Linked DNA regions of Homo sapiens: region 2 is linked to region 1. Evidence: promoter capture Hi-C in 16 types of primary human blood cells and fetal thymus (Javierre and others, 2016). All regions are on one chromosome and are shown on one strand. The core of a region is centred on a gene start or on the middle of the fragment in contact, and the rest is flanking DNA. Distances in the headings are between cores, read along the strand shown. Region 1 holds the start of RPS6KA2-AS1 (RPS6KA2 antisense RNA 1). Region 2 has its middle 6.1 kb from the start of MIR3939.

What was found. Contacts are between HindIII fragments. The CHiCAGO score rates a contact against its expected background, and 5 or more counts as called.
Region 2: a contact is called between a fragment that was not itself captured here and the fragment with the promoter of RPS6KA2-AS1 in region 1, in 1 of 17 cell types (naive CD4 T cells). The highest score is 5.2, in naive CD4 T cells.

Annotation. Positions count from the first base shown.
Region 1 is chr6:166,900,490-166,906,666 of GRCh38, forward strand. RPS6KA2-AS1 (RPS6KA2 antisense RNA 1) reads left to right here and starts at 3,209. Exons shown (of 2, transcript NR_046644.1): 1 at 3,209-3,299; 2 at 3,811-4,580. RefSeq lists enhancers at 1,294-1,793, 2,964-3,645, 3,646-4,326. The HindIII fragment of the contact is 22,454 bases long and covers 1-6,177 here.
Region 2 is chr6:166,988,704-166,994,880 of GRCh38, forward strand. No RefSeq gene overlaps it. Among named protein-coding and RNA genes, the nearest start is that of MIR3939, 6.1 kb to the right of the region's middle. The HindIII fragment of the contact is 4,276 bases long and covers 475-4,750 here.

The DNA of each region.
Region 1 (6,177 bases), core at 1,959-4,458:
GGGAAAATGCCGCGCTAAAGCACACGGGAAATAACGCCGAGCAAACACACAGGTGGGAGAACGTCGCACGAACGCACAGCGTGGAGAACGCGACGTGAACGCACACGGGGAAGAACACTGCGCGAACGCACAGCAGGGAGAACGCCACTTGAAAGCAAAGTGAGGGGAGAATGCCGCGTTGAACGCACAGTGGGGAGAACAACCCGCGAACTCATAAAGGGGAGAACGCAGCGTGAAAGCACACAGCGGGGAGAACGCCTGGGGAACGCAAAGAGTAAAGAGAATGCCTTGGGAACGCACAGGAGAGAGAACGCAACCTGAACACACGGTGGGGGCTGGAGGAAGAACGTCGGGAGATCACACAGGGAGGAGAACGCCAGGTGAACGCACAAGAGAAAACGCCTGGTGAACGCGCAAAGAAAGGAGAAAGCCAGGTGAACGCACAGGGAGAACGCCGCACAACCGCACAGGTAGGAGAAAGCCATGTGAACGCACAAAGAAAGGAGAACGCTGAGTGAACGCACACAGGGCCGAGAACGCCAGGGGAACGCACACAGTAAAGAGAACACCGAGAACGCCGTGGGAACGCACAGGAGAGAGAACGCCACGTGAACACACGAGGGAGAACGCCGCGGGAACACACAGAAGGGCGAATGCCCGGCGAACGCACAGAGGGGAGAACGCCAGGGGAACACGCACGGGGGAGAACGCTGCGCGATCACACAGCGGGGAGAACACCGGGTAAACACACACTGGGGAAAACACCGCGTGAACGCATAGAGGGGAGAACCCCGGGTGAACACACAGAGGGGAGAGCTCCGTGTGAACACAAAGGGAGGAGAACGCCTGGTGAGCACACACGGGGAGAGAACACCGCGCGGACCCACAAGGGGGAGAATGCCTGGTGAACGTACAGCGGGAGGGGAGAACGCTGGTGAACGCACAGCGGGGAAAACGCCATGTGAACGCACAAAGGAAGGAGAACGCCAGGTGAACTCATACAGGGGGTAGGAACGCCAGAGGAAAGCACACAGTAAAGAGAAGGCCGTGGGAACGCGCAGGGGAGAGAACGCCGGGAGAACACAGAGGGAGGAAAATGCCAGGTGAACGCACAAGGGGGAAAACGCCTGGTGAACGCACAAAGGAGAAAGCCAGGTGAACGCACAAGCAGCAGAACGCCAAGTGAACGCACGAGGGGAGAATGCTGCGCCAACACACACGGGAAACACAACCGCGCGAGCACGCAGTGGGGAGAACGGCACGCGAACGCTCAGCAAGAAGAACGTAAGTTGAACGGACAGCGGGGAGAACGCCGCCCTAACACACGCGGGAAATAACGACGCGTGAACACACAGCAGGGAGAACGCCGCGTGAAAGCACAGGGGGGAGAACGCCGCGTGAATGCACACACGGGAAATAACGCCGTGTGAACACACAGCGGGGAGAACGCCGCGTGAACGCACACAGGGGAAATAACGCCGCGCGAACACACAGGGGGAAGAACGTCACAGGGACGCACAGTGGGGAAACGCCATGTGAACGCACAAAGAAAGAACGCCACGTGAACTCGCACACGCGGGGAGAACGCCGGGGAAACGCACACAGTAAAGAGAACGCAGTTTGAACGCACAGGGGAGAGAACGCCACGTGAACACACAGAAGGGAGAATGCAGTGCGAACACACAGAAGGGAGAACACCTGGTGAAGGCACAGAGGGGAGAACGCCGAGCGAACGCACAGGGTGGAGAATGCCATGTGAACGCACAAAGAAAGGAGAACCCCTGGTGAACGCACACAGGAGAAAGAATGCCGAGGAACGCACAGAGTAAAGAGACCGCCGTGGGAACACACAGGGGAGAGAACGCCACGTGAACACATGGGGAGAACGCCGCGGGAACACACAGAAGGGCGACCGCCTGGTGGATGCACAGAGGGGAGAACGCCAGGGGAACACACACAGGGGAGAACGCTGGGCGATCACACAGGGTGGAGAACGCCGGGTAAATACACACTGGGGAAAACGCTGTGCAATCGCATAGAGGGAAGAACGCCGGGTGAACACACAGGGTGCGTTCTTCCATCATGCGGCTGCGCCTGAGTCTCTGAGTCTACTCTGGCTTAGAAGGCTGCCTGATTCGCAAATTGTTTATTGCTCAATTACATGCTTTTAAATTTAATTCAGCTGAAGTGTTTCTTTTCTCACGGCCCACCCACTAGATGTGGCTCTGTCACTGGTGCTGGCCAGTGGGGCGTGGAGGGACCGGTGTCCTTCCCAGCACAGACACAAGGAAGCGGCTGTGCCTTCTCCACACTCTTCTCCCTGACTCTTGGCTACAGCTGTAAACCCAGGGTTAGATTCAGGGGCCTGTGACCTCCAATGGGAAAACAACTGCATTATTTGTACCTCATATTTAGTATTTCCATCAATTATGAGTGTAGGCAAAAAAGCACAGTAGCTTCAGCAGGACTGGTGTTTTGCTGGCAGTACAAAACATTTTCATATCCTATTCCTTGCTGTCTTGTGTTTTCTTTAATGTGTTAAAAAATCTTATTCTGAGACCATCAGGCCACTGGAAGGGGTTCATGGCACAAAAAAAGATGCAGCCCAGCAATAAGGTGAAAGAGAGATGACGGAGCCACTGGACACAAGAAGCCTTGCACCCTGAGTCACCCCGTGGAGCACTGACGAGCCTCGGCTCCTGATTCATTATGCGGAGTGCTGCCTAGTACCAGGAGCAACAGCACTGGACAGGGACATGAGTAAGAAATAAAACTTCCAGAGCGTGAAGCTAGTGAAATGATGGGATGTGTTTATCACAGGGCTAGCATCATCCTAACCAGCATGGAGACATGCGGGGCTGTGAACGGGAGCCTAGAGCTGCAAATTAGACAAGCCTGGGCCAGGAGACCTTTTGCAGGCTGCAAAGCTGCTCTCTCCTTTGCCTCCTCTGTACCTCAAAGGACCTGGGGTGGTGAAGGGAGTTGTGGGCCGACCTGAGTCAGCCTGAACAGGCTGTTCCTTCAGCAGATTCCTCAAGCTCTGCCCCGGCCCCTTCCTCGGCCCACCCCAGCTTGCCCTCCAAGGGGTATTATCACTGTGACCCTCGTCTCCTCCTCCTGTTCAGGCTTTGCCTTGGCAGCGCAGCAGTGCCCCTCTGCAAAGGGGTCTCGCATGCTGTTCAGCAGCTCTCTTCCCGCCACAGCGATGGGCAGCCGGATCCCAGCTGGAACTCCGCCACATCCCAGGAATGTGAATACCAGTGGAATCCGGATAGGACGGTGTGACCCAGGCACAGTGGGTGAGAACCGGAGCTTGGCTAGCAGGCAGGGGTTCAGCTGCTTCCTGACCTGTGCCCTGGCACCTCTGACCTGGCCGGAGCTTCTCAGGCAGTGACCACTGCTGAAACTTTGAGACCCCAACATGTGTGGGAGCATTTCTAAGCCTTCCTTGCATGGACACACTCCTCCCTAACGCTGTCCCATTTTCCAGACAGGGTCTCACCCACCCCGCACTGCTGCCCCCAGTGCTTTGATTCAGCCCCTCAGCTGTGAATGGAGTTGGTTCCTCATATGAGATCTCAATAAGACTATGGTGGGAGTCGGCGTAGAGCAGGGAAAGCCTGGACTTTCTGCCAGAAGGTCGGGGTGGGGCAGTGCAGGCCACGGCACCTCCCGGCTCTGTGCACAGGGTGGGCCACCCCAACCCGGCTCCTCACACTTCACGGCATGCAGCAGCCTCCTGGGCCCTGGGAACATGCAGACTCTGAGCAGCAAGACTGCGCAGGACCCGACATTTGCATTTCTAAACAGCTCCCAGGGGACGCCAATGCTGCGGGCTGAGGCCCACGCTGGAGGAACACCGGCCAGTGGGCAGCTTTGGGTGAACTTCAGAGTGGGTGGAAGCGCAGCTGCCCCGCCTGCCCCCACGGCTGCTGCGCGATCAGGAAACACAGCACACTCCTAAGTGAGTCGTCACCATGGTGACTTTTGGATTCCCACTGCCAGTTCCTGTGGAGTCAGAGAGATCTTAGCTCAGAAGTGCTGACAGCAGGGGCTGGCTGGCCACTGGCCACATGGGAAGAGGAGAAAGGCAGCAGGAGCCACCGTGAGGCAAATGAGCTACAAGACGCCGCTCCGTCTGATTTCCCGCCACAGCTCCCAACACAGGTGAAATGGCTCAGAACAGCTCAGCATGTCCTACTGAGGGGCAGGAAGGATGCTGAGAAAATCCCAGGCAGCGGTCTCAGCTGGGATGTAATTTGAGGGCGAAAAAGTTGTGTTGCTTGCGGTTTCTTCCTTGCTCCTTGCAGGTTATATTTGAAATGAATGTCAGAGCCATGCGGCCGCTGCCAACTAATTCCCAGCTAAGAAGGTAAACACCAGCATCACCTGGGTCTTCTGGTCTACCTGATTCTGCAGCTCAGAGGGAACCATGCAGCTGGCAAAAATGACAGCGAGGGCAGGACTATGACCCAATTAAAGGAATGTGAGTTAAAACATGGGGAGCCAAACACCCAAATTCCAGCCTGATCCTAACTGTATGTAGGCATTAAACCCTTATGCTGTCATTCCCACCACCGAGTAGAAAGTGTGGCACGTGGCTTTGTATCACTGTAAATATGATTCTATTTTACTGGCCTTCAGCCTCCCTCCTTTTGCTCACAGCCTTTACTGCAGCCAGCAGAGAGGGGCACTGCCTCCAGCACAGCCCAAGCGAGCTGGCTTTCCATGGAGGCTCGAAAGGGCTCCCTGTCTCCTGCACACTCACATGGCTTCTGCTGCTGGACACGCACATAAAAGCATGTTTGTGAAGCCTTGCATGGAATCCACAGCAGAGGTGCAAGGAGATCCAGGGGTCTTGACCTCCTGAGATTCTTTGGGGCGGCAGGGGTCGGGCGTTGTATAGCGATATTTACGTTTTTTCCATTCTGGAAACCACAGAGACAGTGGGAGGGGGAGATTCTCTGGTCAAGAAATGAAATAGAATGGAGAAGCAGAGAGAAGAGGAATGAGGAAGCTGGGTGGTACCAGGTCTCCCTGAAGAGGGATAGGGGGGCTGGGTGGTACCAGGTCTCCCTGAAGAGGGATGGGGGGCTGCGTGGTGCCGGGTCTCCCTGTGCTCACAGCACCGTGTGTATCCCCTTCGAGTGCCATGGGAGGTGTGTGACTTCTCTGAAAGGCAGGAAGCGGCAGGGACCACATTTCTCCTGTCACCCGGGTATTCCCAACCCCTGGCTCACTGCTTCTCCCCCAGAGCAGGAACTCTGCAGACAGTTGCTGAATAAACAAGTGAACCAATGAATGAAATAAAGGTGAGACCCAATGGGAAATGCAAGAGTTGCCAGGAACAGCAGGAGGACCACACTCCTGGGAGATCTCCCACGCCATGAATTATACCACCACACACCCACACGCATGCTGCCCGCGCTGTGGAAGCATAGCACAACCCTGTGTATGGAGCACACACCCCCCCAGAACACAACTCCATGTGTGGGAGCACACTCCCTTCCAGAGCACAACTCTGTGTGTGGGAAAACACACCCCTCCGGAACACAACTCCATGTGTGGGAACACCCCTCTGGAACACAGCTCTGCACTCACCCCTCCAGAACACAACTCTGTGTGTGGGAATACACACCCCTCCGGAACACAACTCCGTGTGTGGGAACACCCCTCTGGAACACAGCTCTGCACTCACCCCTCCAGAACACAACTCTGTGTGTGGGAATACACACCCCTCCGGAACACAACTCCATGTGTGGGAACACCCCTCTGGAACACAGCTCTGCACTCACCCCTCCAGAACACAACTCTGTGTGTGGGAATACACACCCCTCCGGAACACAGCTCCGTGTGTGGAGCACTCACCCCTCCAGAGCTCCTGTACTTTTCCCTTTAGGCCATATAGGACGCTGGTCAAAGAATTTCCATCCAGGAACCAGCTAGGACTCCCAGGGTCTCTTCAGGCCTTTCCCACTGCCTTCCCATCATCCCCAGCAGAACACCCGTGGTCCTGCAGCCCCGCAGCCTGCAGTCACGCTCTGTCCTCCCACTCAGCAGCATGAGGGACAAATTGTAAATTTCTGCAGCAGGCCTTTGTTCCCGCCAGCACCGGGCTGTGTTTGCCTTTCCGTGCCTCGCATGCTTTCAGGCCTGAGTCCTCTGGCTTCTTTCCCC
Region 2 (6,177 bases), core at 1,363-3,862, 88 kb after region 1:
AACCTGGTTAGGACCAGGTGTGTCATCTGTATAGAGTGGAATCTCTGGCAGCCCCTACCCCATTCTTTTATCATGCAGGCAGGCTCTTAGCTTGGGCGACTCCACACTGCCTTTCTCCTTCCACCTTGCATGTGCTAACAAGAATAGGGGGAGTTTCCATGCCTTGTCCTGGGTACCTCCTTGCAGCTGCAGGCATTTCCCCCACCCCACCATGCAAGCTTCTAGCTAACCTTAGTGTGTCCCTGTCCAAAAAAGGGGAAAGGAATGTGCTCATTAAAGCCTACTGTTTTTACTGGGACCCATTTATGTAAGTTTGGTGACTACCCAAGAAACTCTCCCTCTGTGCCGGAGATGCTTATCTACATTATACAGTCCAATCTTCCAGGCTGCTCTTTGTTAAAAGAGAAGTGATTTATTTGGACTGCCTGTGGTTAGAATGGAAGTAATTTCTGAGCTGTTTTTTGTCAGAAGAAAAGCTTTTGTCAGGGACTCTTTCACCCTATCTACCTACCTAAATTATTTCTATCTCCTGTATTGCCTCTACCCATCTTAGTTCTCTGGCTGAGGTCCTGTAAATTAGACTGGCCAAAGACAGGTTTGTAGCCACAGACAAAACCCCTCAGACACCGAGTTGTAGAAGGAAGGGCTTTATTCAGCTGGGAGCATCAGCAGACTCACGTCTCCAAAAACCGAGCTCCCCAAGTGAGCAATTCCTTTCCCTCTTAAGGGCTTACAACTCTAAGGGGGTCCACATGAGAGTGTCATGATCGATTGAGCAAGCAGTGGGTATGTGATTGGGGGCTGCATGCACTGGTAATTACAATGGAACAGAACAGGACAGGGATTTTCACCGTGTTTTTCTTTTTCTATAAAATGTCTGTAATCTATAGGTAACATAACCGATTAGGTCAGGGGTTGATCATTAACTAGCATGTCCTGCCTTTAGGCAAAGAAAGGGAAGGCAGAGTTTTTCTTTTATTTGTTTCTTCTCAATCGTCTTCAGCTCAAAATAATCCTTATGCCAAAGAAGCATATGTTAGGGTGGCATATTCTGGTGTAACATCTTTGTCTCAGCAGGCAGTGAAAAATAATTTAAAAAGCCACCTTCTCTGCCTGCTGCACACTGCCCCTTGGTGGCCATCATTTTAACTGTCTTTGGTAAAGGTAGCTTTTCTTTTTTTTGCTTTGAGACGGAGTTTCGCTCTTACTGCCCAGGCTGGAGTGCAATGGCACATCTCGGCTCACTGCAACTTCCACCTCCCCAGTTCAAGCGATTCTCCTGCCTCAGCTTCCCGAGTAGCTGCAATTACAGGCGCCTGCCACCACACCCAGCTAATTTTTGTATTTTTAGCAGACGGGGGTGTTTCACCATGTTGGCCAGGGTGGTCTTGAACTCCCGACCTCAGATGATCCACCCGCCTAGGCCTCCCAAAGTGCTGGGATTACAGGTGTGAGCCACCATGCCCAGCCCAGAATGACCTTTGCTATCTCTTGCCTTCTGCATCTCTTCATTCAATCATTTTCTCTTAGTTTAATTCTAGTCAATTAAATTAAATTCTATAAATATTGAGAGAAAGCAAAATATCATGAAAAGAACATGAGCTGAAAACCAAATAGACTTGGGTGGTTCATCTCAGCTGCTAGCTGTGTGTCTGTGGGCATACTACCTAGCTTATTGGAACACTGTCTCATCTGTAAAATGGAGTTGTTTAAAAATAACTCAACATGCTCAGATCATGGAGAAAATGAAATTAGGTTGTATATTCAAAACAACTAATAATAGTTAATATTTTTATTATGTTATGATTGGGATTTTGAATACAATCTACTATCTAGCTATACATATTCACATCTACGGAGATTTTTATCCTAATTTACAAACAGAAAACTGAGGCAGAGAGACATTAGCTAACTTCCTGTGGTTAACATAACTAGTAAGTGGATTTGAACCCATGTAATGTGGCTGTAAAGTCCATGCTTTTAACCACTACACACAACCTGGTAAATCCTTGTTGAAATAAGAAAGCAATTTCAGTAAGTTGTACTGTACCAAAAGAAATGTGGAATTCATCTCTTTTCCCAACATGCTACTATCTTTTGAACATTTAAAAAAACTAATAGGCCATTGAGAACCTTATTTATTCACCACTACCTAAACTATCCTGATCTTTATGGGAACAGAATAGATGACTTCAATGAGAAGGCATTAATATTACTGAGTGCAGACTGAAAGACTATCTCGATGATTAACGACACATTTTCATTTTTTTTTTTTTTTTTTGAGATGGAGTCTCATTCTTGTTGCCCAGGCTGCAGTGCGGTGGCGTGATCTTGGCTCACTGCAACCTCCGTCTCCCAGGTTTCAAGTGATTCTCCTGCCTCAGCCTCCTGAGTAGTTGGGATTATAGGCACGCGCCACCACTCCCAGCTATTTTTTTGTATTTTTAGTAAAGATGGGGTTTCACCATGATGGTCAGGCTGGTCTGGAACTCCTGACATCGTGATCCACCCACCTCAGCCTCCCAAAGTGCTGGGATTACAGGCATGAGCCACCATGCCTGGCCTTCAATTTTTAACATTTAAGAAAAAGTGACATTCCAAGAATATGCAAGTGGAAAGCCAGAAAGCATTTCCCCTATCCTATCCTGAGTTTATTCTCATAAGAATCTAGTTGTTTAAAAACTAAGTTACTGGAACATATTTGTGATTAATTTTATGTGTCAACTTGACTGGGCCATAGAGTGCCCAGATACTTGCTGAAACATTATCCTGGGTGTGTGTATGAGGGTGTTTTGGGATGAGATTAACATTTAAATGGATAGCCTGAGTAAAGCAAATTGACCTCCCTAACATATGAGTGAGTCTCATCCAATCAGTTAGAAGCCTGAATAAAACAAAAAAACTGATCCTCCCTGAGTAAGAAAGAATCTCTCCTGCCTTCTGATCTTTTGACTGGGACATCAGCTTGTTTCTTGCCTTCAGACTCAGATTGAAACACTGACTCTTCCTGGATTTCAAGCCTGCTAGCCTCTGGTCAGGAACTATGCCATCAGTTCTCCTGGGTCTCCAGCTTGCTGGCTCATCCTGTAGACTTGCCAGCCTCAGTGATCTTGTGAGTCAGTTCCTTATATGAATCTCCTTATATATATACCCGTATACATACATATATCGTATTGGTTCTGTTTCTTTGGTAAACCCTAATACAATATTTATATTTCTTTGTTTTTTTTTTTAGACAGGGTCCCACTCTATCTCCCAGGTGGGAGTGCAGTGGCGAGATCATGGCTCACTGCAGCCTCAACCTCCCAGGCTCAAGTGATCCTCCCACCTCAGCCTCCTGAGTAACTGGGACTACAGGCCATGCCATCACGCTTGGCTAATTTTTGTATTTTGTGTAGAGAGGGGTTTTGCCATGTTACCCAGGCTGGTTTTGAACTCCTGAGTTCAAGCAATCTGCCCACCTCACCCTCCCGAAGTGTTGGGATTACAGGTGTGAGCCACCGCCCCGGCCAATATTTATATTTCTCAGACGCATCCTCTTTTTTCCATGTTCACTTGTGCAATTTTAGTTGATGTCCTTCTTCTTTCCTGGACTATTGGAATAATTTCCTTGTTCCAGTGTCAGTACATCCAATTCACCCATCCCCTCCTTGCTTCTGGAGTGCTCTTTCTAAATACAAATAGGCTAATGACATTTTGCTTTTAAACTTGTTTAGCACGCTATTTCACACCTTCAAGATGAAAGTCAAATTCATTAGATTGGTGGATAAAGTCCTTCCCAATCCAGTCATTTCTTCATCTCCAGCCACGCCACACTACCTGCCACTTCTTGCACAGAGCAATCTGCCTTAGCCTCTTGGTCTTGCACTCTTGTATGTTCGGGTACTTCTGCCTGGAATGCCTCTTTCTTATTCAATCAGGAAACTCTCATAACAGGTGTGTGTGTCTGACATTAAGTGTCACCTCCTTAGCATACATCTTGGATTTACCTCCCTGAAATCCAGGGGTGAAGGAGTCAGGGGTCTTTTTCTATTCATTGCCTTCAATTGAGCATACTTGCAGGGTGTGTTAATTCCTTGGCACTTTAGGTCTTCCCAAAATGCAGGCAGAGCAGGCTCTGGTGGACAAAGATAGCTGATAATGCAAATAACTTCAGGTGCCGGCAGTTGGAAGTTGGCCCAATGTGCAGAATGTTCTGTTCAGGGGCATGTGGGCTTGGCCTAACAGATCTGTTATAGCCCTAATATCATACTGTTGTTGGTTTTTCAATCAATGCACAAAGTTGGAAAGATATAGAGCTGACCCTGAACAACAGGGGTCTGAACCAGTGTGGGTCTACTTATATGCAAATTGTTTTCAATATATACAGTTGGCCCTCCATATCAGTGGGTTCCACAACTGAAACCAAGAATAGGTGGAAAATACAGTATTCTTGGGATGCGAATGGTCATATCCACAGGTTCCACAGGGCCAACTGTGGGATTTGAGTGTATGTGGATTTTGGTGTATACGAGAGGTCCTGGAACCAATCCCCCATGGATACCAAGGGATGTCTGTAATTTTATTTACAAAAAGAATGCAAATTCTTGACAGACTAAAAATGAGAATGAAACTAACAAAATTAGGAGGGGGAGGGGAAAAGACGAGAAAGTAAGAATGTACCAATTCCTCACCTCTCCTAGTAGGGAGCCAATATACAGTGTGTAAAATTTATAAATAATGATTTAGGTAAACAACCTAAAGTCATGAAAGCTTCTAGCAAAACTAAAAGTAATACAATTTTTTAAATTAGGAGTTAAGAATAAGTTTTTGTCCCTTTGAAGGATTTTCAGCTGGTGAGTCAAGATGTATATGTACAGTATTTAAGGTTATAATGAAAAGAACCAGAAGAACTAAAACCAGAAATTGTTAATTGCAGTTGGGTCTAGGATATGGTAACAGATAAGGTAGGTGGGTAGGTAGGTAGAGTAGCAGGGAGACCCTTACTTTTCTTTTAATATGTTCCCCCCTTTTGTTTGGATTTTTAACGATTATTATGCATTATTTCCATAACAAACAAATGTAAATAAAGTGTAGTTTAACTACAAAAAGTAACTTTTAGAACACCCTTAACAAATATTTTGTAGGAGTCAAATGAGGTAGGATCTATACGGTATGCATGAACATCAAAAAATGATCAGGACTTCTTAAGTCAAGTTAGTAAACTAAAAGATAATAGGCATAGGATCCAAATTACAGAGAGGGAGGAAGTATGTGTGTGTATGTAACATATCTATGTACAGTTGACCCTTAAGCAACATGAGGTTAGGGGCACAGACCCTCACAGTCAAAATTCCATCCCCCAAAACTGTAGTAACAGCCTACTGTTGATCGGAAGTCTTACCAACAACATAAACAATTAACACTTTTTTTTTTTTGAGATGGAGTCTTGCTCTGTCACCCAGGCAAGGAGTGCAGTGGTGCAATCTCGGCTCACTGCAACCTCCGCCTCCTGGGTTCAAGAGATTCTCCTGCCTCAGCCTCCCGAGTAGGTGCGATTACAGGCACGCACCATCATGTCTGGCTAATTTTTATCTTTTTAATAGAGACGGGGTTTCGCCATGTTGGCCAGGCTGGTCTCAAACCCCTGGTCTCAAGTGATCCGTCTGCCTCAGCCTCCCAAAGTGTTGGGATTACAGATGTGAGCCACCGCACTCGACAATTTTGTATGTTACATATGTTATATACTGTATTCTTATAATAAAGTAAGCTAAAGAAAACGTTTTAAGGAAATCATGAGGAGAAAATATATTTACTCTCCATTAAGTGTAAGTGAATCATCATAAATGTCTCCGTCCTCATAATTTTCACCTTGAATAGGCTGAGAAGCGGGGGTTGGCTTTGCTGTCTCAGGGGTGGCAGAAGTAGAAGAGGTGGAAGAGGAGGCAGGAGAGGGAGGCACAATAAGTGTAATCTGATGGAGATACATCATAATTTGTCTGACTTTTTTGCTTTTCCATTTCTCTAAACATGTTTCCATTTAGCACCAATTCTTCTTCCACCATTTGCTTTAGATTCAGTGCCTGTTTCATAGAAAAGTCCATGTTATAAGAGAAGTCAAAAGCCATATTGAATAAGTGGAACCCTTCTGCCAGATTGTCTAATGTCAATTTGTTTTCTGGCACTGCTTCGTCTTCT